7 separate regions of the Homo sapiens genome follow, and all the other regions are linked to region 1. The links are contacts of gene promoters, found by promoter capture Hi-C in blood cells and fetal thymus (Javierre and others, 2016). All regions are on one chromosome and are shown on one strand. Each heading gives the region's core, a stretch centred on a gene start or on the middle of the fragment in contact. The rest is flanking DNA. Distances are from core to core; before and after follow the strand shown. Region 1 holds the start of PLAG1 (PLAG1 zinc finger). Region 2 has its middle 10 kb from the start of SDCBP. Region 3 overlaps SDCBP (syndecan binding protein). Region 4 overlaps LYPLA1-TCEA1 (LYPLA1-TCEA1 readthrough). Region 5 overlaps NSMAF (neutral sphingomyelinase activation associated factor). Region 6 has its middle 8.5 kb from the start of NSMAF. Region 7 overlaps ATP6V1H (ATPase H+ transporting V1 subunit H).

Region 1 (3,636 bases), core at 737-3,236:
TATGATTTTCATTGAACAATACAAGAAAATAACCAGCCAACAGTAACATCTTGGCAAAAAAGAAATCAAGATGCTGTTCAATTATATCTACAAGCTTCTTCCTCTCCTGAAGACAATTTTTTTCCACACTTCCCTTCTTCCTAAGAGAGATGATGATAGTAAATAAATTCACAGCTTTCTTTTTTACACCTATCCTATGATGTGAGAACACAGAACTCTTCATACACCTTAGATTTAATAATCTCAACAAGGATCAGACAACCTTGCATTAAATTTAAGTTTCGTGCCTTACATGAAAGTATCCTACTCTATATTTTATTGTCAGTCAGAAATTCTTCAAAAATAATACCTAGGTAACATCACATATACCCAGTTCGAGTTTGGTGCATGAGTTTCTTCACATTTCATTTCCTTTTCCTTCCGGATTCTAAATACAAGGCACTCTAAGTTTGGATTTCCGAAAGTCCCCTCCTTTGCATGAGTTCCTCGTGTATTAACTGGAATTGAAGAGGAAATGTCAATTTACAGTGAGGAGCGGGGCTGAATTACAACATCGAGTGCTCCGCTAAAGGGGCCTTGTCTATTACTTTTTGAATGTACTAAATAAATGTTACAAGGCTCTACTACTTGCAGAGCATAACCAGAAAGAAAAACCAAGCAAAGATATGAAGGAGGGGCCACAAAACCATAGCACATTCAGGGGATAACTCTAAAATCCACTCCAAAGGGCAAACTGCTTAATAAAGCAGTTCCTGATTTCCCATCCAGTGGTTCACGTCCCCCCTCTCTAAGTAGCTTTGAAAGGGCAGGGGGAAGGAAACGTTTCTGAACACGTTCATGCCCACACGCCCCGTGGTCGGAGCCCAGGCAGGGTCCGCGGCTCTGCTAAACCCGGAAGCTGCACACGCCGTGCCGTTAACCCACTGCCAGGTGCAAAGTGGAAGGGGGCAAGAAGTCAAGGGTGGCCTGCCGGAGGTGGGCGCGCAGGGCAAGGAGAAACGAAGGGCGAACCCGAGGCCTCGCCGCCTTCCGCGGTGTAGCCCGTCAGCATCTGATCCTGGACGGCGCGCACAGGTGAACACACCTTGCTGTGCCGAGACCATGCCGAGAGAGACAAGGGGCGAGGAAAACGCAGGGAACTGGGGGTGGGGCCGGTAACTGCGCTTCAGAGGCTACACAGGAGAGTGGAAGAAGAGCTGGGGTTGCCCGGACTAGGCAGAGGTCATCTTCCTCGCCCCCGGAGCGAACAGACCCGTGTGGCGGGAGGAAGAGCAACGGGAAGAGGTCCGCGCTGCGGCGAAGCCTGGCGGGAGCGCCTCCGCGCCGCAGAAGTGCATTCGGGCCCCGCTACGGCCCAAGGGCACCCCTCTCTCCCCGCTTTTCTGCGGCCGCTTCGGAGGTAGGGCGGGGGAACCACTCACCTCCGGCCTCCGCTTCGCCAGCACCCAGGCCGTCTCCAGCTCCAAACACGTCAATGGCTCACGCAGCAGGACCTTAAGTAGCGCGCATCCCAACTTGCTGCCCCCGCTCCCCGGCGGCAGCCCGCCCAATCGGCGCGCGCCGCCGCCAGACTGACAGCCGCGCGGGGCCCTGGGCCGCAGGGGCGGTCGGGCCTCGCCCCGCCCCCGCCTGGCGAAAGGAGGGCCGAGGCGGGAGGAGTGGGCGGGGCGGTGAGCGCGACCCCGCCCCCTCTTCCCCCGCCCCACCGCGCCCCCCAGCCGCGGCCCGTCTCTTAACACTTCGGCTTGACGGGCGGCGTCGCGGCCCAATGGGCGGGCCAACTCCCGCCAGCGGCGGCTCCGAGTGGCCAGCTCTCGGGCGGAGCGCGCGCGGGGGGCGGGCGCAGCGGCGGGCGGGGTTTGGGGGCGGGCCGACGGGAGGCGGGGGCGGTGGCCGAACAGGCAGGGGGAGGCAGCGGTGGGCGCGACGTCGGCGGCGGCGGCGGCGGCGGCGGCGGCAGCTGCAAGTTGGGCTGCAGGGGCAGCGCATACACTACAATGGCTGCTGGAAAGAGGCGTAAGGAAACAATTTCCAGGCCCGCCGCGTCCAGCCCGAAATATGAGAAAAAAATTATTAGAAATTCCGCGGGCGGTGTAGAGGCGGCGGACGGGCCGGAGGGAGGATGTTAAAGCCCCGCGGTGAGTTCTCCGGGGGTCCGGGGCGGCGGCGAGGCGTTTAGCGGGAGAAATATCAGGGTTATTTAAATTATGGGACTAGCCGAGGGGGCAGAGGAGCAGCGGCGGCGGCAGGAGGAGGAAAAGTTTGTGCTACTCTCAGCCCCTGCTCAGGACCCCAGAGAGAAAAATAATAATAAAAAATAAAATAAAATAATTACGCGGGGCTGCGAGGACTCCCGAAGTCGCTTCTGACAGGGCAGGGGGCGATGCGGCTGGGGACCCGAAGGTGAGGTCGGTGGGAAAAAAAAAAAAACCTTTATTCAGGGTCTGGAAAGTTTGAAAAGTTTTCCTCCTCCTCCTCCTCCTCCTCCTCTCTGGTGCTGTGAATATTGTGACAGCGGCAGCGGCAGCAGCGAGAGCGGAAGACATTAGAGACCCGAAAAATAAGGGAAAAATTAATATAAATTCAGTTTTGAGAGTAAACTCTCCGCATTTTCCACCAAAACATCCCGGGGGAAGGTCGCTTCCCAAAGGGCCTGGCGGAAACCCGCAGTCGGCAATATTTGGGGGGCACTTTGAGTGACTTGGGGTAACTTTGCCCCTTTTTCAAAAGAGGTTTTTCTTTTCTGGAGAAATGAATTTGTTTTTGCCCTTTCCTCAGGTGGGCAAGCCGGGGTCGGGGTGCGGGGTCTGCAGGGAGGTGTGAGCCCGGGGTGTGTGGCTGCGAGGGGGGGTAGGGGGAGGGGGTGCTAAATGAAAGCAGGAGATCGGCACAGAGCAGGGACAGCTTGTTGTCAGTATCATAAACAACCAAAATGGAGGGAGAACTCAGGCATATAACCAAATAAAAATTTTTAAAAAATCGCAAAAAATCCCTAAAAATCCGGGATGCTCCCCCTTTTCTCGCTAAAGGTAAAAGTATGTACCGCCTTTCCCCTGAAGTCCATTTTGACTTTGCAGGGACCAAGGAGTTAATATTTATTTATTTTTTAAAACTTTCGAAGGGCAAAAGCCTTTTATAACTCAACCGACAATGAGAAAACGTGAAAATCCGATGCAAGAGAAGCAGGGGGAGCGAGGGGGGAGGTGGTAGTGCAGAAACTGCTAAACTTATTGGTAATGTGGACTGATCTCAGATAAGATAAACACTATATTTGCTATTTTATAACTCTCTTTTAATGATCTTTGCGGGGTTTTTTTGGGTGGAAAAAAAAGTGATGCCATTTTCTTAATAGAGTTAATATGTGTGATTGGAAGAATGAACCTTTCCGGCTTTAGATTGCATTTTCGTCGCATTTATGCTTCAGGTTTTGTTAGTGGCTCCCTCCTTTCTTTAAACTGGGCTCTGCAGAGGAGGGATAGAGAGGTGATGGTGCTCAGAGAGGCTGGAGTGCAAGGCTGGAGTACCTTTTGGGGAGGGATGTGGAGTTGCTTGGTTTCCCCCTTCCTGACATGTTTGCTTCACCTGTTCATCCTTCCTAAAGAATGTTAAGCTGAGGTTTTCTGGTTTTATGTGTAT
Region 2 (3,650 bases), core at 661-3,160, 2.3 Mb before region 1:
TAAGTTAAATTAACTTATAATACAGCATTTGGATTTTCTTTCAAAGATGTGTTGAATTCTGCTTTCCTAAAGAATTAAAACAAATTTTACATATTTAGAAATGTCTCCCCTTCACAAAATAAGACCATTTTATGGGGCTACCAAAAACCATTAAAGCAAAGGTAAATTGACTTGTGACTTTTTTTTTTAAAGGAGATTTAGTTGTTGACTGGGTCATTTGTTTTATTTCAAGGTCCCATTTTCTACTTTCTTGGACAGGACATTATGAATATTTATGTGGAGAGAAATTAACAAATATATTAGCATACTTTATAGGATGTTTATAACAGAAAATATAAAGAGGTGATCAATAATATACAAGAATATACTATCACAAGTTTGAAATAGCCATGTTGGGAAAAAGGATACAGCTCTTTCTACATCAGTGTTCAAAACAATTTTTATAGAAACCCTAACTACAATATTTTCTGGCTACTTATATTGTTTAATTTATAATAATATCTGTAATATTTAAGAGCATCTGGATTCTGTTGAGAGAGTAAAATCATTTAAGTCTCTGAATGCCTCCACATTCCATAGGAAACGTGCCACACTGGCATTTGAGCTGCCCGGGGATCCATCATTTATTGGCTGATCTCTCTCAACCAGACAGGAGTGTACTCTTTCAGTGTGTTAAAACTTGTTTTTGCTTTTAACTATGGAATTCAATTTGGGATTCTTCCCTAAGTTGTGAATACACACACCCTTAAAAAGAATGCCATATCCTCGGTTCCAAGTTACACATCCAGAAGTGTTCCAGATGTTCAGAGTCAACTATAGCAGTTGTATTTGTGCGGCCAGGGTAATGCATAATTTCTCAACTATATTTATATGGAAAATTACTATTGCTTCTTTCATTCATTTAGTTTCTTGTATGTGGATAATTAGGAATTAAATTTATTTGACTTTTGGATATCAGCCTTATCCTTCAGCTATTAATATAGTTCGTAACTGTATAATTTTACATGGAATCAGAAGTGATCTTTTTTTCACTTTTCTTCCCTGTGGTTTCTTTGGTATCAATCATTCTTTCCTCTGACCAGAACTTCTTGAGGGCTGGGGCTATACTTTAAATGGTCTTTGATGCCTGGCACAGTGCCTGAGGAACTGAAAAGGGTTGCTTCTAGAATTACCGTATTTTCTTGTTTCTAAGAGCAACATTTTTAAAAACCATTTTAACAATTCAGAACTTAAGATGTCTGAAATTATCAATGTCAAAAGAATATTCCCACTGTCGGGCCGAAAAGCAAGTTGAGACTGTTTCCTTCACCCACCCACATGCGACCTTCAGCCAGACTCCAAAGGTATCCCTTCAGCAGATTGTCACCTCAGTTCCATTGTTTGCATTTATAGTGCTCAACAGTGAAATTTCTAACATAAACGAGGGATTCCTAATTTTTGCTGAAATTCATGCCTTCAAAAAGATTACACAATGAAGTAACTCAAAACCATGAGGTAAGAGGCAGCTTTCAATTAAAGGCAATAAAACGAGGCCAGAAACGGATGGGATTTCCCTATCTCATCCTGCACATATTTTAGTTCTAGTTTCCTCTCTGAGGATTAACCCCATCAATGATTGCCCCTATGAAGTCCCAACCTTGACAAGAGAAGCCTGCTCACCAATAAACCTAACATCTGCATACAAGGTGTATCAAATGAGCAGGAGAATTTTTCAGGATCAAGATCTAAGTTGGGCATAAGGAATTAGGAGAAATAAGTGTTTTGTCATTGTGTAAAACCAAAGGTTTGCATAGAGGACACACAACTTGAGAAGAGCCACATGCACAATCAAAATCATAGCGCTCTTACTGTGTTTTGCACCTGTGAGGGAGGTGCAGCAATAAGGCTTCCTGACCATGCTTTGGGGAGATAGAACAACCCCCTGGAGTGAGGCCACTGGCACAAAAGCAGGATGGTGTTCCATGTGTTTACTGCAAGTAAATCTATTAAAACTACCGGGTTTTTACTGGGACTTTTGTTATTATTATTATTACTATTTTGAGACTGAGTCTTGCTCCATCCCCCAGGCTGGAGTGCAGTGATGCAATCTTGGCTCACTGCAACCTCCACCTCCCAGGTTCAAGCAATTCTCGTACCTCAGCCTCCTGAGTAGATGGAATTACAGGTGCCGAATACCACGCCCAGCTAATTTTTGTATTTTTAGTAGATACGGGGTTTCACCACGTTGGCTAGGCTGATCTTGAATTCCCAAACTCAGGTGATCCACCCGCCTCGGCCGCCCAAAGTGTTGGGATTACCGGCGTGAGCCACCGTGCCTGGCCAGGACTTTTGAAAAGTAACAGGATGACATCCATTTTTGCTTAAACCCAAAGAGCCAACCTAGGACACATGATCCATTCTACCTAGTGGGAAATAAAAGTACCATCAGCTCTCCATATTTTCACAGCTAATTCTTCTTGGCATTCCCAATATATCTGTGAAAAACACCTTTAGACATTACTTTTTAAATATCAGATAGTCCCTCAGTTCTAGTCGCCCCCAGAAGCTCCCTTTCCAGAGCCCAGTCTGAGCAGTTTGTGCTTCAGTTGTCCACACAGCTATTTTCCTGGGACTTAGTTCACCATCATCTTGGTCTTTATTCCACGCTCTCCTATGCTGAGTCCCTGATTCCTGCGGTCCCTTGTTCACTGCCTCATTTTGGATGAGCATGTCCTCTAGTGACTTTCTGAGAAAGGAAGCATGAAAGGTAAAATGCTTAAGGCATTGCATTTTTCAAGATTTGATTCTAGTTGTTAAATAAAATTATGGATGGAAGCAGGTTAAAAAGCCAACCCTGACTGAAGAATTGATGTTAAGATGTGAAAAAAGAGTATCAGTTATAGTTTGCTCTGAAGCCAGTCTTCTTGCTTTCTTACATACAGCCATGTCTTTGTAAAACCACATGTGCATTCACACCCAGCTTTGCATTCTACAAAAGCATACACTGGAAATAACTGGGCATATGGCACAAATAGGGCTATGGACAGACCATACCACCCAATTTTATAACAAGAACACCAACAAAAACAATAAGCCTCTATTTATAAAATACTGGCTCAGTCAATCTCCACTAGCAGCCTACCCTGAGTAGCTTTTAAACTCAGGGGCTTGCTCTTTTGAGATGTAGGGGTATTTACTTTCAAAATGCCAGTTTTATCAGTGTTAAAAATTTGCTTCAGGGGCCTTCCTAATGTTTTCAAACAAACATCTTTTTTTCTTTTTGCAGCTTCTTTATCTGTCTTCACACTTCACCAGATAGCTTAATATCATGAAATACATAGCAGTTCCTGAAACCACTAACCCAGCCTTTGTTTCAATAAAGAAAGGTGCCACTGTAGAAGTTTTTTCCTTAAGGTGTTTGCATATTGCTAAGGCTTGCTTTTTAATTGTTTAGAAAGTTTCCCCCCTGATTTCTTGGAAATCACATACTGGGATACATGCATATCAACCAAAACAATTTCAACATTATTAGATAAATATCACTCTCCCATTTACCAGTTTTGTATGAGCTAATTCACATTACCAAAACATATGTGGTAGCAGAACAAACTGGATGTTTTGTTCTTTGAAATACTTTAGGGAATACACCACCCCTAGATTTTGGATTGCAT
Region 3 (3,384 bases), core at 636-3,135, 2.4 Mb before region 1:
TGAAGAAATTCATCTTTCAAGGAGAAACTATAAAGTTGTTGTTGTTGTCACATGAAATTCAAATGTTTGTACAAGTGTGTGGATATACTGAGTAGTCAAAGGAGTAGGTGGTAACAGATATTAAACTACTGTTTGTCAGCTCCAAATCCACCCTTCTAGACTCTACTTGGTGATGCTGGGCCTAACTGTGCAAATTATAATTTCGTTTGTCAGTGACTGGAATGACAAGCACCTCATTCCTTCCTGTGTGCCTCCTGCTCCTGTCAGTACTGTGTAAGCCTGGCCCTTTACACTGGCAGCAGCAGTTGGTTCCAGTCTGCAACTTTTACTGACACTCCCAGAACCAGCCTCATTACAACCCCTCAGAGGCACTAGTAGTGTCCCCTCATCCAAGGTCTGAGTCCCAGCTCCGTGGGGCTCTTCCTCAAGCTTCTAGGTTCTGCTAACTCCAATCTCTCTCCTGTGTTATCCCAGTCCTAGGAGAAGCAGCTAGCTATCTGCAATTACATCTATGTCCATTTATGTTTTTTTCAATTTTTCAACCTCTTAAAATACCTACTATTATTTGTTTTCCCAACTGCATCACCACTAACACAAGCAAGTTTTCAATAAATATTTGGTAAATACATAAATGCCAGGTACTGTATATGCATTGGGATATGGCAACAAGACAGACACAGATTTAACTACAATTATAATAAGTGGTACAAAGTGCTATGGTCATAGCAATAACCTTAATAAAAGGTTATCAGACCCATTATAATTAAGCTAGACTCTGGAGTCTAATTACATGGAGCTTTGAATTTCAAAAAGAATGTTAAAAGATTAAGAGCAAAGGCCAGGCACAGTGGCTCATGCCTGTAATCCCAGCACTCTGGGAGGTCGAGGCAGGTGGATCACCTGAGGTCAGGTGTTCGAGACCAGCGTGGCCAACATGGTGAAACCCGGTCTCTACTAAAAATACAAAAAATTAGCCAGGCATGGTGGCGCGCGCTTGTAGTCTCAGCTACTTGGGAGGCTGAGGCAGGAGAATTGCTTGAACCCAAGAGGCGGAGGTTGCAGTGGGCCGAGATCACGCCATTGCACTCCAGCCTGGGTGACAAAGTGAGACTATGCCTCAAAAAAAAAAAAAAAAAAAAAAAAGATTATGAGCAACAAAGATATGATAGACCTATATGTGTATTTCAGAATGATTAACTTAGCAGCGGCTTAGTACTGTCTGAAATAAGTTACTAGAGGAAATTTAAGAGAGTACTATAATAATGAAGGCTAGAAGTATAGAAACCCTGAATATGGTTATAGTAGGACTAGAATGGATAAAAAACAGATAAAATGAATACAAGAAACAGAAACAGAATCAATAGGACTTAGTAACTGACTAAATGCAGAAGACAAAGGAGAACGAACTAGTAAAAGGTATCTGAATCTAAGTCCTAATAAACTCAAAACAGTGTAGCACAAAATGAAGTAGACTATATAAGAAATGATATCCAAAAGGAAGTCTAAAATTTCTGAGAAGTGAGGTTCAATGCTAGTAGTATATCTGTGAGTTAGCCACAAAGAGGAAAGCTTATACTAACATGTAAAGTATGATTTTATATAAATCAAAATTAATTACACTATACATACCCCCTGAAGTGGTGCACCAGAAACCACGGCCACATTTGCACGTATTTCTTCTTCATTTAAACTCAGCCCCATGTATTGAGAGAGCTCTGGATACAGTCTGGGATAGAGATCTAAAAAGTAAATGAATAAATTAAAAAGCACTTACAGAATACACAAAATGAAAACTTCTCTCATTATGGGCTTCTGCGTATTAACAAAATTACACTTAAGTTATAAAATCTAGAATGAATTTAAAGTAGCAATTTGGAAAGGCATCTCCCCATCTCTGTAATAATGAGAAATGGAAAATACAGAAAATGTTTAAAATTCGTAAAATATGAAGACATCTGAACTGAAACAACCAGAGATTCCTAAACACTCAAAAGTAGAAATAACTTTTCCAAATAAACTATCTTGCCTTTCCTGTTTCTTAAAATAAACTTACTTGATTAGGAATTTAGTAAGAATGCCACTGATTCTCCAATTCAGAACAACTGACCAAAATATCTATTTGTCAAGTCAGCTACTTTATAACTCATTCTGTAAACAGGGATATGGAATGATTCTTATGAACAATTTTTTTTGGAAGCTTGTAAATTTATTTAGTGTCTTATCATTTTAATAATTTTAACCACATTCCAATGAAATCCTGGAAATGGTATTTTTAAATATTAACATTATTTCACTTATTAGTAGTTATATACTATTTCCAAAAGCTCTTTTTTACATGAGACTTAAATTATCTGTGACTTAAAATGAATTTTCTATGAGGCACAATGTTATAAACTGTTGTAAGACAAAATGACAGGCCACAAAAACTTATTTAACACTTATTTTGTATCTTAAGTCATAGTATTTAGGAGCTCTGTCCTGAATCCCTCTGAACCTTGAAGAAAAAGGGACCAAAGACAGGATACAGAGAATGAATAAAGGCCTTAAGATTTAGGAGGCTTCCCAAAGAGGAGGTGGTTGGAAATTTCAGAAGCTCCCATAGGAAAGACAGAAGACAATTCAGAAAGTTCAACAGCAGCAGCATGATAGTTCTTAAATGTGAATTCATATAGTTCTCATATGTGAATTCATATATATAATTCATTCATAAATGAATCAGCCACGTTAGGGATTTACAAGTCAGTCTAAAATTAATTTTCATTAAGCCATGAAATACATCCCCATATCCACAGTTCACTATCTTAATTAGAAAAAGGGTTATTTTTTGAAGTAAACTTTTTTTTCTTATTCATAACTATTTGAGCTTAACTACCAATTTTATGCAGCCTGTCCAAAAAAAAATCTTGGATTCCTTATATGAGCAAAAGAAGATAACAATATTTCTGTTCACAGAGAATGAACTCAAAGTATAAACCTACTTCCATCGTGAGGGATAGGAGCAGAAGCTTCTGACAAAATTGCTGGATTGGCAGGGTTTGCAGAAAAAGCAGTTTGAGCCTGAAAAAGAAAAGAAGAAAATTCTAACAATATGCTATACTTACTTTATATTCTTATATAATTTATAAGCTAAATCCAGTACTTCCAAAAAGAAACTAAAACAATGAAGATTTATGTAAGAAAGTTTAATTTCAAACACATCAGCAATACATTTTCCAAAGGAAATCTGCAAATCAAAACTATATTTGATATTCTAAATACTTTTAAGGCTATCACAAAAAAATTGTAGAAGTACCATTCTACATGTCTTATAACCAGCACTTCATAGTGCTGCCACAATAAATTAATATTTTCAAAGTGCATTCTAAAATGAATAAATTTTACATT
Region 4 (3,778 bases), core at 836-3,335, 2.2 Mb after region 1:
TAACAGTGGTTATGTTTTGGAGAGAAGGCAAGGGAGTATGTTCTTGTAGCATTGCAGCAAACCACATCTATGGATGGTGGATGATTTAATCAGTCTTTGAAAAGGGTTATGGCAGCTGTTTTCAATGTGATAAAGCTTAATTGTAATCATGAAGATTATTTTGGAAAGAACCCATTTTAGTGATAATCCAACGTAAGAAGCTACTCAGAAGCAATTGAAAGGATTAGGTTGACTGGAAAATTATAAAACTGCCTAAATGTTCATATCGAGGTGATGTTTCTGGGGAGAAACACACCATTTTGTAGCCTCATGACTCATCAGTACACATGGTATTTGTCTCACTGGGGAACTCACTGTCTAAGTGGAACAAGGTTTTCCTTTTTCTTTTTGTTCTTTTTTTTTTTTGAGGTGGAGTCTCGCTGTGTCACCCAGGCTGGAGTGCAGTGGTGCAGTCTTGGCTCACTGAAACCTCTGCCTCTGGGTTCAAGCGATTTTCCTGCCTCAGCCTCCCAAGTAGCTGGGATTACAGGCGTGTGCCACCACGCCCAGCTAATTTTTGTATTTTTAATAGAGACGGGGTTTCACCATTTTGCCCAGGCTGGATTTGAACTCTACTGGCCTCAAGTGATCTGCCTCTCTTGGCCTCCCAAAGTGCTGGGATTACAGCTGTGAGCCACCATGCCCAGTGAAACAGAGTTTTTCAAGCATTCTCTCTCTCTATCTCTAGTTTTGGTTGAAAGCTGTCATTCTCTGGTGTGAACCTGGGAGGTGGAGCTTGCAGTGAGCCGAGATTGCACCATTGCCCTCCAGCCTGGGTGACAGAGCAAGACTCCGTCTCAAAAAAGAAAGCTGTCATTCTCTGGTCCCATCCCTTCATCCCTCTCCTTATACCAAGATCATTGCTTTTCATTTATTGTACTGAGCTATAATGGGTATTTTCTCTATTAAAAATATTGCTTAATATTTAAAATGAGAATCAAAGATAAAATGTTTAGTTCAAAAAAAAGGCATACTTGTCACTTTACTAAATTGTAAAATTTTTAACTTCTTTTTAATCTGTATGCAGGCAATTTTTTTTCCATCACATAAAGGTCACTGAGATACTGTGTCATTTATTTAGACCCCAAATTTTGTTTTTACAGCATGATAGTAGTATTGTTACTTTGAAAGGATTGTTCTTGATTTCTTTTTGGGGTGTTTGTGCGTATTTCAGTACTTCCAGCGGCAATGTAAGCAACAGAAAGGATGAGACAAATGCTCGAGATACTTATGTTTCATCCTTTCCTCGGGCACCAAGCACTTCTGATTCTGTGCGGTTGAAGTGTAGGGAGATGCTTGCTGCAGCTCTTCGAACAGGGGGTAAGTCCAGTGCATGTTATTTCTCAGTCCTTTGGTCACCACCCACAACCACTGCCATCTCCAACTCCATATTGCTGTTTGATGAGTGTTACCCTGTGGATAGCCCACCCACTGCTGCTTAGCTTGGGGAGAAGTTGTTGCTGATACGGGTCTGTTAAGGGGGAGAGGAGGAGGAATACTGGGGCATTTGCTTATTACTATGTAATTGTAAGAAATAGATTCCCTCTAATACATGGATGTTTTCCCTGATTTCATAGTAATGTACACTTTTTTCTCACAAATCTTTTGTTTCCCCACAATTTAATCTGCAAACTACATACCCTGATCTTATATTGAGAGTTAACAATACTGAATTGTTGAATAGTATGACATATAGTATGAATGTTTTCCATTTTCTAGTTAGAAAAAGGGAGGGTGAGTCTTGATTTATATATGGGAGCTTAATTTAATTTGAAAGTATCCAGTCTTAACATGTAACATTTGGATTTAAAGTTTTATATACAGGAATATTTGTTATTTTATACGAATTCATCCTTTTTCTTTTCTCTCATTCTGCACCATGGCTAGTTTGACCTGATTTTCTCCTTACTCTGCCCTTTCTACTTTGATTTCCTGACTGTCTCTTTTATTTTTTCTGCCTAGTTTATTTCCTTCTATCCTCTTGCATATTTGTATAGCAGTCTTCTGAGTGTGTCTGTATATGTGATTGGCAGATTAACTAAATGATTTCTTTGCATTGAAGCCTGAGTCACAGGAGACTAGACAGTTCTTTCTGTAACTTTCTCTACTCTGCTGGAGCAGCCAGAATTTATGGAGTTACGAAAAATGAATTGCCTGCTAGATCAGTTACTTCCTGTGCCTGAGGGATCAGGAATCATCAGTGCAGGAGCACTGTGGGTATCAGGTGAAGCCCAGAAAAGAAGTCTAGCGGGCAGTGAAGTGATCAGATTCTAACGAACTAAACTGAACGGTTTCTTTATGTCAGGCAAATGGGGTTTAAGAAATAGGAATGCAGTTTAATTACCTGGTATTAGAATTTTCTTTTAATCTGTTACAATAATTTGACAATTCTTTATGCCTATTTTTAGATGACTACATTGCAATTGGAGCTGATGAGGAAGAATTAGGATCTCAAATTGAAGAAGATATCCTTTGTGTGTATATTCATAATTGTTTTTTTTAATAAGTAATATTTATTGAACATATGCAAATGCCAGGCACGGTTTTACATGCAGTAGTCCTTCCAATGAATTAGGTGCTCTCATCCCATTTTACAGAGAGAAAACAGAAGCAGAAGAGGATTGGTCATTGTTCTAGATCACACAGCCTGACACTGACAGGGCTGGGATTCCATTGTAGGGAATTTGGCTCCAAGCCCATGACCTTGACCACCACGCTAGACTTTTTCCTTCATGTTGAAGCTGAATGAACTAGAAACAGCGAAGTTTAAAAGGACCTGGCTCTTTGGAAACTGAAACATATAAATCCCTAGTAAAATTGCTTCAGATAGCAGGAGAGTGAAAATATGATTGAGAACAAGAAAGGCAAACCGATAACATAATTAGAAGAGATTACAAAATACATGAGAACATTGGGTGTATCTCGTTGGCAATTTGAAAACCTAAAGAATTTCGCTTTCCTAGCAAAACATGAGTGTCCAAGATTGACTTTATGTACTTGGCAGGACAGGCTGTGTTATATTATGGTGACAACCTTGAAATTTCAGTGGCTTAACACCACAGAGGTTTCTTTCACAGATTAAACTGGACAAACAGGAATGTATTTGTCCTATATGTTCATCACAGGCTAGCTGAGGACTCTGGGCTTTGGGTCATTGTCCTCTAGGACCAGGCAGGTGGATTGGCCATTGTGAGTGGTGATGTGGCAGAAGGTAAAATGGATAAATTGCATACTGGCTTTCAAAACTACTGCTGAGGAGTGACATCTATTACTTCTGCTACCAGCCAGAAAGGTCTCTTGGTGTCACACAACTTCAAGTGGTCATAATTGTTTTAAGTAATCTGCTAGCTTAATTTTTCCTGTTGGTATAGAATTCAAAGTCTTATTCTTCACTTTTTATCTTGATTGTATTGTTTTCTTGGAAAGGAGAGGGACATCTATGTCATTTTATTTGTCTTGTTTTTCCTGTTATTGAAAAGGAAAGTACAGTATTGATGGCATTTATGACATTTAAATTTTTCTGCCTTGTAGATTGAGACTGTAGTGTCTGAATTTAAGTTGTGCAAAAGGGCATGGAAAGCACACACATATAAATGTGAAGACTTCTCAGTTAGGGGGACCTCAGAGCACACACAGTCACCTGAGCTCATTATCCCAGAGGAAGCGTGTTCTTGCTAAGCACCGGGAAAGGGCTCCAGGAGAGGGGTACTGTGTGTGAGTAGGGGCAGGGAGCATCTAG
Region 5 (3,388 bases), core at 235-2,734, 2.4 Mb before region 1:
TTCTCTTGTTTTTAAAAGTTTAAATGACTTTCAACTTTAAAAAGAACTATATTTCAATCCCATTCAGTTTGGTTTACTCATTTTACTTATTAAACACCCATTGTGTAGACAGCATGGGCTGGTTATCACAAGGGAATATCTAAAGATCTGTTGGCTGGGCCGGTGGCTCATGCTTGTAATCCCAGCACTTTGGGAGGCCGAGGTGGGTGGATTACGTGAGGTTGGGAGTTCGAGACCAGCCTTACCAACATGGAGAAACCCTGTCTCTACTAAAAATACAAAATTAGCCAGGCATGGTGGTGCATGCCTGTAATCCCAGCTACTTGGGAGGCTGAGGCAGGAGAATTACTTGAACCCGGGAGGTGGAGGTTACTTGAGCTGAGACTGCGCCATTTTACTCCAGGCTGGGCAACAAGAGTGAAACTCCGTCCCAAAAAAAAAAAAAAAGATCTGTCCCTAGAGGCATGTGTTCTTGTGGGAGTAACTCAGATAACCATGAGGCAGATGTTGGGGGCAGGGAGGTATGACAGGGAAGAGGTGGGGAAGCCTAGCATTGTTCAGTCAGGGGAAACAAATGCTCAAAATTCCCTAAGTAGGAAAGCGCTGAGCTTTGTTCAGATAAGGATAAGTTTAACTTCACAAAATTCAGGGTTTCTGTAAAAGAGTAGTACATCCACCTGGTGAGTGATTTTATTTTTGACATAGTAGTTATTTGGACACAAGGCAAGCCCAGCTATGTACTTCCCGCCACTGGGTAGAGAGGACTGCCTGGCATGATATACATGCTTCATAAATGTTTGTTAAATTCAAGAATGGAAAAGCTTTTTGGGATCAGACGTTTTAAATATATTGCCTTCTTATACTTACTAAAAAATAAACTGAAAGTTGTTTTTTCGCCCCAAATCCAGATTTTCCTTGCTGCTGCTTAACTTGGAGGAGTACTACTTTGAACAGCATAGAGCCAATCACATTTTGCACAAGGGCAGTCACCATGAAAGGTAAGGAAGCTTCGGTATCTCCTTGGACAAACAAACCTTTCTGATATCTGAACTTTTAAAGTTAAATGTGTGATCATATAGGTGTTAACTAAAGAAAAAATTAGGCTTTAAAAAAAATTAAAGTAAATTTTATTTAGACTTTTATTGAGGATTATAACCTAGGAGAGTCTTTTGGAGAGTTTTTGCTATGTTTATTATTTTATCTCCCATGAAGTTTTTTTCATCTTTTCTCTTATTAGGGAAGTAATGAGAAGAGTGTATTTAAAAGTTATAATTGTAACTTGAAACCTTTTTCAAAGCTAAAAAGCATTTGTTCCAATTCTGGGGTTGTAGATATCTTAAGCTTGATAGGACTCCAGTCCATCCCATCATTTTTTTGTTGCATCCCTCTTGTAGTTATGCAGTATCCTCTGCTCTCAATTATTCGGGTGACAATGTTATAAAGTAATGATTATAAACCACAAGAGTGGTATAAAATCAGTACTTTCAAAATGAGTCATGCGATTTGAACTAGAAGCAAGATCTGATTTCTCAGTATCTTAATAACTATTACTCACTACTATAAAAACAGATTGTTTCTTTGACTTTACCTTTTGAAAGCTATGTACAGAAGCATGTAATGAAGCTTTTTGTTTGCTTAAAATGGCAACTTAGAATTAACTAAGATGAAAATTGTTCCACCAAAAAGGTATCTGCTAATGATTTCCTTTTGGGAGGTTACTTAACAACTGTAAGCCATAACTTAGGAAATTCTTTGACAGTAGATAAATCCACTTATTTTTATTATTCTTCAGGTTTATCCTTAACGGATCAAAAACATGTGGTATTTGTTTAAATACAAGCTAAAGTAAAACTCACTTGGTTTTTTTGTTTAGTAGCTTATGACATATCTATTTTCTTGGCATTCAATCAAATTAGACAATTATTCATCCCTGAACACAGCACCTTGCTTTCTTATCTCTGGAATTTTGCTCATATTCTTTTCCCTAATTCCATATCTTTTTTCCTTCCAACATTCTTCTATCGTATATCATCATAGTGCCTTGCTTAAAATTAAATGTACTTGTTTATTATTAAAATACAACTACAGGTAGCAAACTGAAACCTGTTTTTATAATTTTAAAGTAACTATTAGGGCAAAATGGTACAGCCCCATGTAGGTGTATTTGGTAATATCTGGTAAGATGACATGTGCATTAACCTATTGATCTAGCAATGCTACTTCTAGGATACCATTTCAAAGAGAACTGGCAGTTATATAAATGGACATATGCACAAGGTTATTATAGCACTACTTGTACTAGTAAAAGACTAGGAACAATCCTACAGGAGACTGACTGAACTGACTGATAAGAAATGGCCACATGATGGAGTACTATGCAGGTTCAACAAGGAATGAAGTTCTTTGTAATGCTATGAAGTGATCTCTACATGTATTAAGTGTAAAAAGCAAGGGACAGGATACTGTGTGTCATAAGCTACTTTTGTCAGAAGGGGGCAGATTTATCACTATGTTTTTAAAAATCGGAGGCATAAACTAAAAGCTAGTGGAGACAGTTATCTACACAGAAGAGGGGAAGGATCAGAAGAACAATATAGAGATGGAATGAGGACTTCTCCAAATGTACCTTATTTTGTAACTTTCGTTTTGGAACCATATAAACATTTTATAGATTTTTACTACACTTTATCTTAGCTAAGAGGCTGAGAGGGCATCTTTTGTAGATTTTTAATATAGAATTAAATTTAAAAAGAAACAGTAAGGCCAGGTGTGGTGGCTCATGCCTGTAATCCCAGTACTTTGGGAGGCCGAGGCTGGTGGATCACTTGAGGCTAGGAGTTTGAGACCAGCCTGGCCAACACGGTGAAACCTCGTCTCTGCTAAAATACAAAAATTAGCCAGGCGTGGTGGTGCACCCTTGTAATCCCAGCTACTTGGGAGACTGAGGCAGGAGAATTGCTTGAACTTGGGAGGCGGAGGTTGCAGTGAGCCAGGATCATGCCACTGCACTCCAGCCTGGGTGACAAAGCAAGACTCTGTCTCAAAAATAAATCAATCAATAAATAAAAATAAAAAAGAAACAGTAAACCCTAAAAATCAAAGAGAAAATGAAACAGTTCAGGTGTGGTGGTTCACACTCGTAATCCCAGCACTTTAGTAAGCCAAGGCAGTACAGTACGATCTCTTGTGGCCAGGAGTTTGAGACCAGCCTGATCAACATAGCGAAACTCTGTTTCTATTTATTACAATTATATATTAAAAAAAGAAAAGACAAGAAACAAATGAATTTAATTATAAAGTTGGAGTTAGCCACAGAAAATTATTTTAATCAACTTTACAATATAATAATTTGACTGTGTATCTCTGGTAAGATGAAAAAGTATTGCAA
Region 6 (3,533 bases), core at 425-2,924, 2.5 Mb before region 1:
ACTTGCTAAATTTTTAGTACACTTAAGATATGTTGAGATAATATAAAATATATCATTTCCAAATATTTCACAAATTCATTGTAGTCATTTCCCTAAGTAATTAAATCTTCTTTAGAAACAGGATTTTAAATGACCACATATTATTTTACTGAATAGATAACAATTTACTTAACCATTGACCTCTTAGTAGAAACTGGATTACTGTTGGTTGTTTGTTTTTGTTTTTTTAACCGAGACTAGGTAGCAGGTATCTAGAGGTTCCCTTGATTGTCTCTCTTAGTTCACATGACTTCCCCAAATCCAAGACTGATGAGGGAAATGAAACGTTCTGTTGCCCAGGCTGGAGTGCAGTGACACGATTTTGGCTTACTGCAACCTCTGCCTCCCAGGTTAAAGCAATTCTCCTGCCTCAACCTCCCAAGAAGCTGGGATTACGGGCACACACCAACACACCCAGCACATTTTTGTATTCTTAGTGGAGACAGGGTTTCATCATGTTGGCCAGGCTGGTTTCGAACTCTTGACCTAGTGATCTGACCCCCTCGGCCTCCCAAAGTGGTATGAATACAGGCATAAGCCACCGCGCCCAGCCCTACTGTTGGTTTTTAACTGATTAAACATAAAACTGGGACAGACACTGTGGCTCACGCCTGTAATCTCAGCACTTTGACAGGCCAAGGCAGGAGGATCACTTGAGCCCAGGAATCCAAGAGACCAGCCTGGGCAATGTAGAAAGACTCTGTCTGTACAAGTTTTTTTTGTTTTTTTTTTTTTTTTAGCTGGGTGTGGTGGTGCTTACCTGTACTCCCAGCTACCCAGAAGGCTGAGGTCAAAGAATTGCTTCAGCCCGGGAGGCAGAGGTTGCAATGAGTTGAGATCATGCCACTGCACTCTAGCCTGGGCAACAGAGAGAGACCTTGTGTCAAAAAACAAAAACAAAACAAAAACAAATTTTGTTGAATCCTGTGATATATTTAAATTGCCTTCCAGAAGAGCCAGTTCACCTGTATACATCTCTTCCCAGCTCTGCATTCAGTGATTTCACGTTGGTAACATGAAATTGGCCATAGTGGGGGTATTTTACACGACAGAAATTGGCAAACACTCCAAATCAGCCTGTTTTCTTCCAACTTGCTGGTTACTAAACATTTACCAGTTTACACTAGAGAAATTTACCAATTTTACTTCCATCAATAGTGTTTAAGCACTTCAGCACTGGACACGACCATTGACAGTACTGATATTTGTCACATCGATATCTGAAAATAGTATCTCATTTTGTTGTAATTTTCACTTACTTTTTATGAAGTTGACATTTCTGTATTTTAGGGCATACAATGTATGTATATCTTAAAATTATGGTTTTATTTATAATTTCCTGTTTATCTTCTAACCTAATCTATACTAATCTCCGATTAGCAACATGCAGAGTAAAAACATTGCTGGATTTATAAAGTACAAGGGAGAAGATCTTAAATGAGGGATGACTTCAGCAATTACCCTAATCTTTACCCAAGCAAGGAAGATAAACTGTGCAGGTGACAGATAACAGATGCCCTCTGGAAGCTGTATAGAACCCATGGAGGAAAAATTGATGCCAATATGGGCATATACAGCTCCTATTTAATTTTTTCCCACTGGACATAAAAAACAGAACCTCAGAAACAGTATTAACTGCATGGGAAAAATCATCTAAAAAAATCCTCTTAAAAAAATGTGAGGTCTTATTCCTCCATTAATTTCAACACTAACTCACATGCCCAGATAACTATGAAAGGGAGAAGAGGAGGCTTGCACCGGCATTGCCAAAATGAGAAAACATAAGTGATTACACGCAATGTCTGCTGTGACTTAAATGTCTCAAATCTCATTACTGCCCCAGGACCTGCTCCTACTCACACACGCATTTTCATTTGTCTTTCCACCCCTTTCTTACTTAACTCATGTACTTTGGGGAATGCTAACTTCTACCTCCAATTCTAGAGATGGCCCAGAGTCTCAGAGAATGTTTCATTTCCCTCATCAGTCTTGGATTTGGGGAAGTCATGTGAACTAATAGGGACAATCAAGGGAGTCTCTAGATACTTGCTAGCCAGCCTGGGCTGGATGAGGTCTCTCACCCTGAGGGAGAAAGTAGGCAGCTGGCCAAATACCAGAAGCTACCTATTACCAGCCATAGGGGAAGGGAACCAGACTTAGAAGGCAGCTAACTATGCGGAAGGCCTAACAGAAAGATGATGAAAAACTGTGTCTCTGATGAACTTATTGAGCCACTGGATTAACGAACATTGATGTATACGATACTTCGGATTTCCAGGTACCTGAGCTACAAATTCCTGTGATGGCTAATTTTGTGTGTCAACTTGACTGGTCCATGGGGTCAGATGTTTGGTTAAACATTATTGTGGGTATGTCTGTGGGGGAGGTTCCTTTTGAGTTGGTGGACTGAGTAAGGCATACAGCCCTCCCAATGTAGAGAGGCCTCAAACAATCTATTGGAGGCCTGAATAGGACACAAAAGTGGAGTAAGAGAGAATAATCTCTCTTTGCCTGACTGTCTTTGAGCTGGGGCATTGTTCTTCTGCCTCTGGGCTTGGGATGAGACTGGAGATTATACAACGGGCTCTCCTGGTTTTCAGGTTCTTGGGCTCAGACTTGGATATATACATTCCAGACTCCTATATATAAACTCCTATTAGTTCTGTTTCTCTGGAGAACCCAGACTCATACAATTCCCTTTGTTATTTAAGCAAAATGTGCAAGAGGAAAGAGCTGATCACAGTTCTATCTAAATTTTCCTGCTGTCCATGTAAGTTTTGAGCTTCTTTCAGGCTTGTAACGCAGTGGTCAAACTTTAAAATGTAAAACATATCATGTCATTTTCCTGCTCTTACCCCTCCAGTGGCCTGTGTCACACATTAATAAAAATAATAAGAAAAAATCCAGTGCTCACCTTTGTCCTGTGGTCTGGGCCCTGCTGCCTCTATCTCTCACCGTTAGTGTGCTCTAGACACTAAAGTGCTGGCTCAGGCTGTTGACCTTGCTATTCCTTCTACCTGGAATGCCTTTTCTCAGGATCTGCACATTCAAGTTTCTTAATTCATTTAGTTGTCAGCTGAAATATCAGTGATCAGAGGAGACTTCTCTGACCCCCTATCTAAAGAAGTTCTCACCCTCTTCATGCTCTATTCCTTACTGTGGTTCAGTTTTTCTTGTGATACTTATCCTTACCTAAATTTACATTATTCACTTTTTAAATAGTCACTCTTACCAGAAGGTAAGTTCCAAAAGGGCAAGGACTTCATATCATTTATGGCTGAGTCTCTAGTACCTAGAACATTTCCTGGCATACAATAAATAGTCAATACCTTTTAATGAAGACGATGTAAAGAAAAAAATAATAGTCTCAGGTGTCATCTTCCTTAAGAATAAGTATCAATATGTATTCCTGGCTAGTTTTCATTTTAGTAATGGGGTACACGTTGCAGATTGACTGACCCGGGAGCCATTCCCAACCTGCTTCTGCCTGGCGG
Region 7 (3,783 bases), core at 832-3,331, 2.4 Mb after region 1:
ATGATCAATTTTATAAATATACCAGGTGTCCTTGAGAAGATGTATTCTTTCTTAAGGGGTATAAGTTTGATTTATATTTATCAGATCTACTTTATTGATTATGTTATTATTTAGGATACAGGTTTTCTATACCTTTACTTTTTGTCTACTTTTTTCTCGGTCTGGTTTTTTTTGTACTAAGAGTGGTATGTTAAACGTCTCCCCCTTATAAATGCATTTTTTACTTTTCTAATATCTTTTGTACTTTTCACTTTATAAAGGTGGATGCTGTATTTGGTGCATATATACACATTAGTGTTATATCTACAGTGAATTGTGGCATTTATCATTAAAAGTGTCCCTTTTATCATACTTAATACATTTTGGCTTAAATTATACTTTAATACTGGTATAGCAACTCATGGCTTCTTGTTGTTTCTGATTGTCTGCATATCTTTGCCTGTCCCTTTTTTAGGTGAATCATTTTGTTTTAGGTAAGTCTTTTGTATACAGTATAGATTCGGGTCTTGTTTGTGAGTTGAAACCCCTTTTTTTAATAGGTGAATTAAACCATCCACATTTATGAATATTACTAAGAAATTTGATCTCAACTGTCATACTGTGTTATGATTACTGTGTGCATTACTATTTTATTCTTCATTATGTGTTTTGTTTGCATTTTTATTAAACTTTTTTGGCATTTAGGAAGTTTTCTGTCTGTTCTGTTGGTTATCTTTGTATTTATATCCCTTTAATGCTGTTAATCCCCTGTTTTATTCATTTATAATTTCACTTGTCATTTTTAATAGTATTTTTTTATTTGCAACAGTCAATGAACTTATTCTACTTTTCCTCTCTTCTCATTTTTTAGTGGCTATTTTTTACTTTGTCAGAACATATAACATTTATATATTATTATTCTACACTTGTTCCCACCTTTGTTTTGTTATATTAAATTTTCACCACTGGTTCTTTTGCCAAAGTTTTCCCAGGGATCTCTTAATTAGATGAAGCTTATCTGCTAGTAGGTTCCTCAGGAATGTCTTATGTGTACAGTAGTCTCTAAATTTTTGCATTAAAATTTTTTCCTGTAATCTTCATACTTGAAGAGCAGCTTGGCTGATAGAGGATCTCTGATTCACAGTTCTTTGACTTTTGAGTCTGTTCTCTGTTGAACACCTTATAATTTAGTTTTACTTTTTGAGACCATTTTGCTCTTTTCTTTCATTTCTTTCTTGAACTCAATCAGCTATTTTTAAATTTTCCTTTATTAGGGGCAGATTTCTCAGTTTTGGTTTTGAATTTCTGATTCAAGGTGGTATTTTATTTTTCCAGATGTTTGAGGATATTTAATTCAGTTTGCATTGTTACGTTACAGTTTTGTTTTGCAGTTGTTTTCTTGGGAGAGGAATTTCATCACCTGAGATATTTTGATTTGCATCTTTTGGTTTCTTTTTATGGTAGTTTTGTATCTGTGTGGGGTTCTTTCATCTATTCATATCATGGATTTGGGTGGTTTATAATACTCCTCACTCAAGAGTACCATTTTTTTTTCTTCTTTTTTTCTTTGATGCATGGTCTCACTTTGTTGCCTCGGCTAGAGTTCAGTGGTACGATCTCAGCTCATTGCAACCTCCACCTCCCAAGTTCAAGTGATTCTCATGCCTCAGCCTCCAGAGTAGTAGTAGCTGGTATTACAGGCGTGTGCCGCCGTGCCCAGCTAATTTTCGTATTTTTAGTAGAGATGGGATTTCGCCATGTTGCCCAGGCTGGTCTCGAAATACTGGCCTCAAGAAATCTGCCTGCCTTGGCTCCCAGAATTCTGAGATTCAGGTGTGAGCCATCGCACCTGGACTCTCTCTCTCTCTTTTTTTTTTTTTTTTGAGATGGAGTCTTGCTCCATTGGCCAGGCTGGAGTGTAGTGGCATGATCTCTGCCCACTGCAACCTCCACCTCCCGGGTTCAAATGAGTCTCCTGCCTCAGCCTCCTGAGTAGCTGGGACTACAGGCATGCACCACCATACCCAGCTAATTTTGTTGTATTTTTAGTAGAGATGGAGTTTTACCATGTTGGTCAGGGTGGTCTCAAACTCATGACCTCAAATGATCCACCTGCCTCGGCCTCCCAAAGTGCTGGAATTACAGGCGTGAGCTACTGCACCTGGCCTCTCTCTCTTTTTTTTTTTTCTGGTGAGATGCAGTTTGTTTGTTTTATTCTCTTTCTCTCCTGTTCCTTCCTTTCTTTTCTTTTTTCTTTTTCTTTTTTTTTTTTTTGAGACAGAGTTTTGCTCTTGTCATCCAGGCTGGAGTGCAGTGGCACAGTCTTGGCTCACTGCAACCTCTGCCTCCTGGGCTCAAGCAATCCTCCTGCCTCAGCCTCCTGAGTAGTGGGATTACAAGCGTGTGCTACCACGCCTGGCTAATTTTTGTTTTTTTAGTAGAGACAGGGTTTCATCACATTGGCCAAGCTGGTCTAGAACTCCTGACCTCAGGTGATCTGCCAGCCTTGGCCTCCCAAAGTTGTGGGATTACAGGTGTGAGCCACTGCACCTGGCCTCTTTTGTTTTCTTTTCTTTTTTTTTTTTTTTTGAGATAAAATCTCACTCTGTCACCTAGGCTGGAATGCAATGGCGCCATTATAGCTCACTGTAACCTCAAACTCTTGGGTTCAAACGATCCTCGCACCTCAGCATCTTGAGTAGCTGGAACTACAGGCGCTTACCACCACATCTTGCTAATTAAAAAAATTTTTTAATTGTAGAGATTAGGGTCTCATTATATGCCAAGGCTGGCAGTTTCTTTAATAGATGACTTTCTTTTGGTGGGGGGCAGATTGTATGCCCTTGGATTTTTTTTTTTGGTCTCATTTTGTCTTGCAGAACCCTAAAGTTTCCTCTTTTGTTCCTTTTTCTTTTTGCCACCCAATCTCCTAAAGATGCTTCTTCTTCTTCTTCTTCTTTTTTTTTAAACCTTATTATCTCTCAAAAATGATGCCTTTCCAAGACTGCTCCCTGCTCCCTGTAGCTCGTGCTCTGGTCTACCAGTACTCTTTTTCAGTTTCTTCATAGTTAGAGTTTATTTTATTTTATGGTGGCGATTGTAGATCCACCTTAGAACTTCTTCCTTCCTGTGCCCATATCCTTCCTTCTACACACATTTTTCAGATGCACTTTATCATCCACAAAAGCTTGTGATGGAGTATGAGAGATAGCTTTTGTTGGGATTTGGTGTTTCTTTTATTATGGTTAATTACAAATGTGTATTCTCTGTCTTGTTATCCTGAGGGCATGGGTTTTGTGTAGTTTTTAGTTGATCTTTTTGTCGACCTTTATTTATGAAGGATCAGTGGAGAGATTCAGATTTAGGTAGCTGGTATTATTCTCATCCACCAGTTCAATGTATGTATGTATGTATGTGTGTGTGTGTGTATATATATACACACACACACATATACTTTGTATACAAAGCATATATATATACTATGTATATACAAATGTGTGTATATATACACACACTATATACTATATATATACAAAGTATATGTATATACGTATATACATATATACATTTGTATATACATATGTATATATGTATATACGTATATACATATATACATTTGTATATACATATGTATATATGTATATACAATGTGTGTATGTGTGTGTATTTTATATATATATATATATATATATATATATATATATATATGCTTTTTTTTTTTTTTGAGATAGATTCTTGCTCTCTCACTGAGGCTGGAGTGCAGTGGCACAATCTCAGCTCACTATAACCTCCACCCACCAGGTT

The links. The method cuts DNA at HindIII sites, captures the fragments that hold promoters and counts their contacts. A CHiCAGO score of 5 or more calls a contact.
Region 2: a fragment that was not itself captured here is called in contact with the fragment with the promoter of PLAG1 in region 1 in 2 of 17 cell types (neutrophils and naive CD8 T cells); the score reaches 9.0 in neutrophils.
Region 3: a fragment that was not itself captured here is called in contact with the fragment with the promoter of PLAG1 in region 1 in 1 of 17 cell types (naive CD8 T cells); the score reaches 7.8 in naive CD8 T cells.
Region 4: a contact is called between a fragment that was not itself captured here and the fragment with the promoter of PLAG1 in region 1, in 3 of 17 cell types (activated CD4 T cells, naive CD8 T cells and naive CD4 T cells). The highest score is 7.3, in activated CD4 T cells.
Region 5: a contact is called between a fragment that was not itself captured here and the fragment with the promoter of PLAG1 in region 1, in 2 of 17 cell types (activated CD4 T cells and non-activated CD4 T cells). The highest score is 5.7, in activated CD4 T cells.
Region 6: a fragment that was not itself captured here is called in contact with the fragment with the promoter of PLAG1 in region 1 in 1 of 17 cell types (activated CD4 T cells); the score reaches 5.9 in activated CD4 T cells.
Region 7: a fragment that was not itself captured here is called in contact with the fragment with the promoter of PLAG1 in region 1 in 1 of 17 cell types (total CD4 T cells); the score reaches 6.7 in total CD4 T cells.

What each region holds. Positions count from the first base shown.
Region 1 is chr8:56,209,623-56,213,258 of GRCh38, reverse strand. PLAG1 (PLAG1 zinc finger) reads left to right here and starts at 1,986. Exons shown (of 5, transcript NM_002655.3): 1 at 1,986-2,138. CHCHD7 (coiled-coil-helix-coiled-coil-helix domain containing 7) reads right to left here and starts at 1,470. Exons shown (of 4, transcript NM_001011671.3): 1 at 1,422-1,470. RefSeq lists an enhancer at 1,292-1,361 and silencers at 1,374-1,599, 1,442-2,001. The HindIII fragment of the contact is 9,849 bases long and covers 97-3,636 here.
Region 2 is chr8:58,541,009-58,544,658 of GRCh38, reverse strand. No RefSeq gene overlaps it. Among named protein-coding and RNA genes, the nearest start is that of SDCBP, 10 kb to the left of the region's middle. The HindIII fragment of the contact is 4,122 bases long and covers 1-3,650 here.
Region 3 is chr8:58,570,560-58,573,943 of GRCh38, reverse strand. It overlaps SDCBP (syndecan binding protein), which reads right to left. Exons shown (of 9, transcript NM_005625.4): 3 at 2,979-3,057; 4 at 1,630-1,739. Among named protein-coding and RNA genes, the nearest start is that of SDCBP, 19 kb to the right of the region's middle. The HindIII fragment of the contact is 628 bases long and covers 1,572-2,199 here.
Region 4 is chr8:53,985,695-53,989,472 of GRCh38, reverse strand. LYPLA1-TCEA1 (LYPLA1-TCEA1 readthrough) reads left to right here. Exons shown (of 21, transcript NM_001425842.1): 16 at 1,214-1,359; 17 at 2,448-2,504. TCEA1 (transcription elongation factor A1) reads left to right here. Exons shown (of 10, transcript NM_006756.4): 5 at 1,214-1,359; 6 at 2,448-2,504. Among named protein-coding and RNA genes, the nearest start is that of TCEA1, 35 kb to the left of the region's middle. The HindIII fragment of the contact is 3,896 bases long and covers 138-3,778 here.
Region 5 is chr8:58,640,594-58,643,981 of GRCh38, reverse strand. It overlaps NSMAF (neutral sphingomyelinase activation associated factor), which reads left to right. Exons shown (of 31, transcript NM_003580.4): 2 at 909-998. Among named protein-coding and RNA genes, the nearest start is that of NSMAF, 18 kb to the left of the region's middle. The HindIII fragment of the contact is 282 bases long and covers 1,344-1,625 here.
Region 6 is chr8:58,666,605-58,670,137 of GRCh38, reverse strand. No RefSeq gene overlaps it. Among named protein-coding and RNA genes, the nearest start is that of NSMAF, 8.5 kb to the right of the region's middle. RefSeq lists an enhancer at 193-880. The HindIII fragment of the contact is 5,273 bases long and covers 1-3,533 here.
Region 7 is chr8:53,819,452-53,823,234 of GRCh38, reverse strand. The region is part of intron 4 of ATP6V1H (ATPase H+ transporting V1 subunit H); the gene reads left to right. Among named protein-coding and RNA genes, the nearest start is that of ATP6V1H, 22 kb to the left of the region's middle. The HindIII fragment of the contact is 2,174 bases long and covers 995-3,168 here.